Regions from separate parts of the Homo sapiens genome. Here region 1 is linked to region 2. Evidence: promoter capture Hi-C in 16 types of primary human blood cells and fetal thymus (Javierre and others, 2016). All regions are on one chromosome and are shown on one strand. Each heading gives the region's core, a stretch centred on a gene start or on the middle of the fragment in contact. The rest is flanking DNA. Distances are from core to core; before and after follow the strand shown.

Region 1 (3,145 bases), core at 447-2,946, 530 kb after region 2:
AAAATAGCCAGGCGTGGTGGCATGCGCCTGTATTCCCAGCTACTTGGGAGGTTGAGGCAGAAGAATTGCTTGAACCTGGGAGGCGGAGTTTGCAGTGAGCTGAAATCTTGCCATTGCACTCCAGCCTTGGGCAACAGAGCAAGACTCTGTCTCAAAAAAAATAGTAATAAAAATAAAAATATACTTACCAGCTCGGTGTGGTGGCTCACACCTCTGATCCCAGCACTTTGGGAGGCCGAGGTGGGTGGATCACCTGAGGTCAAGAGTTCGAGACCAGCCTGACCAACATAGAGAAACCCCGTCTCTACTAAAAATACAAAATTAGCCAGGCGTGGTGGTGCATGCCTGTAATCCTAGCTACTTGGGAGGCTGAGGCAAAAGAATCACCTGAACCCGGGAGGCGGAGGTTGCAGTGAGCCAAGTTTGTGCCATTGCACTCCAGCCTGGGTGACAAGAGTGAAACTCCATTCTCAAAAAAATAAATAAATAAAATAAAATAAATAAACAGATGGTTCAAGTTTGGCCTCTCCCAGTAGGAATCCTCTTTGTGGCCTTCCTAACATCTGGCCTCCGTTTGAAGAATTTATGACAGTATAGCCCCTGTTGGATAATAATTGTATAATTACTGGAACATTATTGTTCCTTCTACTGGGCTGAAATCTGCCTCCTACTAACCTTCTAAACTCAGCTCTGCCCACTAGAGTTACACAGAACTCCCTCTTCCATTAGATTTCAGCCATAAGTGATTATTCTTCCCCTAACCTGTATAAAAGCAGCCCCAGTCACGGTGTAAGGATTTAGCTGCACTGCTGGCCTCAACCTCACCTGCCTGAATGAGCTGGAAAATAATTATCTACACAGAAACAGCCCAAGGAATTAGAATGATAGTGATGCTCAGATCCGGGGAGGCTGTGTCCCCCTGAAGGCCCTGGTCAGATCCTGGTGAAGTGGATGGTGCTGCCACAGGAGGGATGTAGGGTAAACTTCTCAGAGACTCAGGGCACTCCAGTGATCTGGGCCCAAAGCACACAGTTCCTTTTCCTCTCCCCACAATCCACACTGGAGCAGCAGGCTCTAGTGGGCCCCTCCCAGGCTGGCAGAACTTTCCCTATCACCCACTCCCCAGAAGCAAAAAAAGTTTAAAAAGCACCAGCCTAAGGCTGGGTGCAGTGGCTCATGCCTGTAATCCCAGCACTTTGGAAGGCTGAGGCGGGCAGATCACAAGGACAGGAGTTCAAGACGTGCCTGACCAACATGGTAAAACCCCGTCTCTACTAAAAATACAAAAATTAGCCAGGCATGGTGGTGCATGCCTGTAATCCCAGCTACTCGGGAGGCTGAGGCAGGGGAATTGCTTGAACCCGAGAGGCAGAGGTTGCAGTGAGCCAAGATCATGCCATTGCACTCCAGCCTGGGCAATGGAGCAAGACTCCGTCTCAAAAAAAATAAATTATTGTACATTTAAAAATAACTAAAAGAGTATAATTGGATTGTTTGTAACATAAAGGATAAATGCTTGAAGTGATGGATGCCCTGATGAGATTATTATGCATTGTATGCCTGTATCAAAATATCTCGTGTACCCTAAAATAGATACACATACTGGGTACCCACAAAAATTAAAAACTTTTTTTTTTTTGAGACAGAGTTTCACTCTTGTTGCCCAGGCTGGAGTGCACTGGCTCAATCTCGGCTCACTGCAACCTCCGCCTCCCAGGTTCAAGTGATTCTCCTGCCTCAGTCTTCCGAGTAGTTGGGATTACAGGCGCCCACCACCACACCTGGCTAATTTTTTTTTTTTTTTTTTTTTTTTGGATTTGGAGTAGAGACGGGGTTTCGCCATGTTGGCCAGACTGGTCTCGAACTCCTAACCTCAGGTGATCCACCTGCCTCGGCCTCCCAAAGCGCTGGGATTACAGGCATGAGCCACCAGACTCAGCCAAAATTAAAAACTTTAAAAAATAAATTAATAACCACAGCAGTAGCTAGTAGCTAATGGCTACCAGATTGGACAGGACAGTGCAGCACCAGACTGTAAGCTCCCTTTGAGCAGAGACTGGACTATCTTGTTCACTCTTATGCCCTGATACATAACACAATTCCAACACATAAACAGCAGGTTGTTATTTTCTTTTTTAAAGACAAAAATTTGAAATTGTAATTTTTATTAAATTGTAAATAAAATGTTATTTTATTTTATTTAATAACCTATAGCATTTGCCAATATCCAAGGTATAAATACTGCTGTCATGGTTGATTTAAAATGGTTTAATTCTGGGAAGCAAAATTTTCAAATTTAACAATCTTCTCTTACTAGCTTTTGAATGAATAAGCAAATGAATGAACAAATAAATGAGCAAATAACAAACCAAGAGGAGTCTCTGCATGCCTCACCCAAGGAAAAGAGGACAAAGGAGAGTAGAAGAATATTTCAAGATGCCAGCAGTCCTCTCACTCTCTTTGCAGGTCCTCTTTGTTCCAGGAAAGAGAACTTAGTGGGAGAACAATTGAACTTCCTCAGCTTCGCTTCACACACACCCCAGCTTTAAGAAAGCCCAGGAAGAATTTGTTTTTTTTTTTTTTTTTGAGACGGAGTCTTACTCTGTCACCCAGGCTGGAGTGTAGTGGCGTGGTCTCGGCTTCTCAGCTCACTGCAACCTCCACCTCCCAGATTCAAGCGATTCTCCCGCCTCAGCCTCTCCAGTAGCTGGGATTACAGGTGTGCACCACCACGCCCAGCTAATTTTCGTATTTTTAGTAGAGACAAGGATTTCACCACGTTGGCCAAGCTGGTCTCAAACGCCTGACCTCAAATGATCCACCTACCTCGGCCTCCCAAAGTTCTGGGATTACAGACATGAGCCACCTCACCTAGCCTTTGGATTACAGACATGAGCCACCTCGCCTAGCCTTTTTTTCTTTTTAAGGAAAAAAAGAAAAATAAAATCTCATCTTAATCTGCTCCATTTTTTTTTCTTTTTAAAGAAACTTTCCCAAGTCACTTAAACAGTCTTCGTAATGGGAAGGCACTCAAACTATAAATCTCCCTGTCATTTAGGAATGCTCAGTGCAAATGTTTATAGAACCCGGGCACCACTTTCAACCTCTCCTTTGAAGAAGGGCTTTGTAATCCTCCTCTGGGGTC
Region 2 (3,338 bases), core at 22-2,521:
CTCGGTGGTGATGCTTTCCAGCTGCCGTCGGAGCTCACTGGTATAGGAATCAAAGAGGGGCTCTAGGTTCTGCCTCACAGTCCTGGAGCCCTGCTCCTGCAGGAGGGCCCACTTGGTCTCCAGGACCTTGTTCTGCTGCTCCAAGAACCTCACCTGGAGGGAAGAAGAGAGAATGAAACCTTGAGAAGTTGGAGAGGCAGAGTTAGACACTCCTATTAATAAGGGAGAGAAGAAAAAGATATTTTTTTCACTTGGCACCCATTGACAATAATGTAACTGACAACTCCAACCCAAAAGGAGGCAGTCCATGGAGCTACCGCAAAGTTCCCTAGGGCTTGCATAGGATTCGGGTGGTGGGGCCTAGAGGCTTCTGTTGGGGAGCTGCTCTTGGGTTAAGTTTCTCAACACCACCTACTCTGGGTTAGGGTAGTTTGCTGAGCAGCAACTCTCCTGTAGAGAATCAACAAAACTCTTCCCTTGGTGTTGACTGAACCAGCCCATGTGGCTCCGAAAGAGAGGAAATTTCTACCAGGTCCTGTGGGGCAAGCTGGCCTGACTTGGAAGGGTCTCAGCCCCTGGGAGCCCGTGCTGAACAGTGCTCATTCCCACAGTGGGGTCATTGCATTATTGCTCTCCCCCCATGGGATGGCCCTTCCAAGAGTTTATTTGATCCCAAACCCAAGGGGGTGGATGAAGCCCCTGCTTACCTTGTCGATGAAGGAGGCGAACTTATTGTTGAGGGTCTTGATCTGCTCGCGCTCCTCGGCCCGCACCCGCTGGATGGTGGGGTCGATTTGCAGGTGAAGAGGAGTCAGGAGACTCTGGTTGACAGTGACCTCTTGGATGCCTCCAGGGGGACACACGGGGAAGCTGGGGCCACTGAAGCCTCCTCCAACTCCACCCCCATAGCCAAATCCACTGTTGACTCCAAACCTGTTGCTGGCCCTGCCACCAAAGCCACTTCGGCAGCTGCTGCCACACCCATTGATGGAGACCCGCTTGGCACCCCCCAGGTTGTAGAGGCTGCGGCTTCCAAAGCTGGCCCCAGCACTGCTGATCCTTCCCAGGCCCCCACTCCCTGCTGCAGAGCGGGCCACAGAGACAGAGCTGAAGCGGGAGCGGCCAGCTGCCGGGGTGATGGCCGAGGTGGTGCTGAAGCCCCTGCGGCTGCCAGACTGGAAGGTGATGGAGGACTGCCGAGACATGGTGGGTGAGGAAGGCCGGCGAGAAGGCACCTGAGGTGGGCTGGTACAGGCAGTGGAGAAGACAGGTGGCTGGAGAGCCCTGGTCTCGTGGCTTTTATGAGCATCCTGTGGGGGCGGGGCACTGCTAGTGGAGAGGGCCTTCTGATGGCATTCCCTGGGCATCCGCCAACCCTGAGCTCACACTCGGCATCCCTCGGGAAATGGTGTAAGGGCCACTGGCTGGTTCCCTGGCACCCCCTCCCCACAACGTGCAAACTCCTTTCCAGTTGCAACTTGATCAGCATATGAGTAAGAAGCAAGTTAATTGCTTTCCGTCATGTGCTAATGATGCATCTTGTAAAGGACTCAGCAAACACTGCCTCATTTCTAAACCGCTTTCTTAGGCCTGGGACCAACTCCGTCCTGTCCAAACATCTTGTGTTAATACAAGCCACTACACTTCACTGTTTCCTTGGGGTGCTTCCTATTCCCTAAGCATTTTCTCAGCACCTACTGCCTGGTTCCCCAAGCCCCATCAAGCTGTCTTTCCAAACCTTGAAGGTCGCGCTCTGTAATCATCTTCCTTAGGAATCCACCCCATTTTGATTGCCCCTTTATTCTGCTCTTAAGCTTCCGTGTCTATTGTGTAGGTCACACATGGTTTTCTGGAGTGTATGTGTGCCTGTGCCCTGCCCACTGCAATATAATGTGACTCTCAAGGCCAGCCAGTGCTCTGTCTCCTGGGAAGAGAGGTTGTGAGAGGAGAAAGACTCGGGTTTGAATCTCAGACCTGCTCATAGTTGTGGGACCTTGAGCAAGCCATGAAACTTTTCTGTGCCTCAACTTTCATGTCTGTAAAATGGGGTTTGTAATGAATATTCACATGTGAAAACTTTCGCAATGCCCGGTATATGTAAGTGCTGAGTAAATGTCTATTGAGGCTCCCCTCTTTCTGATACAATCAAGTAATATTAAGGAAGTGCCAACCATGTCCATCCTGTGACTAGTCCTGTGGGAATTCAAAAGAAACACAATGCACATTATTTATCTTCAACAAGCTCATGGTCCTGTTGGGAAGATAAAACTGTACAAGATGGTGTACCATGAATCATCACCTCCAAGCTGCATTTGAGGCTGCCTATCCCAGAAGTCTCCCAGGCAGTTTCCTCCTCCTCCTGAGGACCAAGAATTCCTAGCTCTCCAGTCCTTCATCAAAAGAGCTCCAACAGCTGCACCTAGCAGAGGATTCGTTCCTTCCCTGTTTCTCCTGTTAACCTTGTAGACTGTGCCCTACATTCTATATTAGTCTACAAACCGCAAAGAAGACTTCAAGGCACCTCATCTCTCTGTTCTGCAACTCATTGCCCCATCTCTACCATGGGAAGAGTCAAACCAAAACATTGCTGAATCTTCTTTTTTTTTCTGCCTTGAGACAGGGTCTCACTCTGTCACCCAGGCTGGAGTGCAGCAGCTCAATCTCGGCTCACTGCAACCGCCACCTCCTGGGCTCAGGTGATCATCCCACCTCAGCTTCCTGAGTAGCTGGGACTACAGGCATGCTCCACCATGCCTCTCTAATTTTTTTACTATTTTGTAAAAACTGGGTGTCGACATTTTGCTCAGGCTAGTCTTGAACTCTTGAGCTCAAGTCATCCATCCTCTTTGGCCTCCCAAAGTACTGAGATTACGGGCTTAAGCCACCGCGCCTGGCCTGAATCTTCTTTTATCTTGCTGCCTGCTTTCTTCTTGCTGTGGTTTTGAAGCCTGGGAGAGTAAGAGAGGAATTAATCAGCATTCAGTCTCCATTTCGTGGATGAGGGCATTGAGCCCAGAATGGTTAACTAGTCAGACAGACCCACAAGAAGCAGAGCCAGATTCCATGGTCTTTCCACACAGGTGTCCTTTTAGGGGCACACTGGTAACCGACCATTTGGCAGATGTTCTCACCTGCCTGGAATGGCAGCTTGGCACTTGGAGCGGTAGTTCTTTGTTCTCTAAACTGTTTCCTCCTTGGGACTGAGGCCCGGGGGTAAGCCTCTCCCCCATCTAGAGATTATTTGGGAGTCTCAGTTTCCACAGGAAAGATATGAATCATAGCTTGTGTTGATACAGGCCAGGAAGAGCAGAGGAGTTCCTTCACCTGGTTCCGTTGCC

The links. The method cuts DNA at HindIII sites, captures the fragments that hold promoters and counts their contacts. A CHiCAGO score of 5 or more calls a contact.
Region 1: a fragment that was not itself captured here is called in contact with the fragment with the promoter of KRT75 in region 2 in 7 of 17 cell types (M1 macrophages, M2 macrophages, M0 macrophages and 4 more); the score reaches 10.1 in M1 macrophages.

The regions. Positions count from the first base shown.
Region 1 is chr12:52,966,866-52,970,010 of GRCh38, forward strand. No RefSeq gene overlaps it. Among named protein-coding and RNA genes, the nearest start is that of KRT18, 19 kb to the left of the region's middle. The HindIII fragment of the contact is 7,174 bases long and covers 1-3,145 here.
Region 2 is chr12:52,433,100-52,436,437 of GRCh38, forward strand. KRT75 (keratin 75) reads right to left here and starts at 1,272. Exons shown (of 9, transcript NM_004693.3): 1 at 708-1,272; 2 at 1-153. The coding sequence starts at 1,205. The HindIII fragment of the contact is 2,406 bases long and covers 1-1,812 here.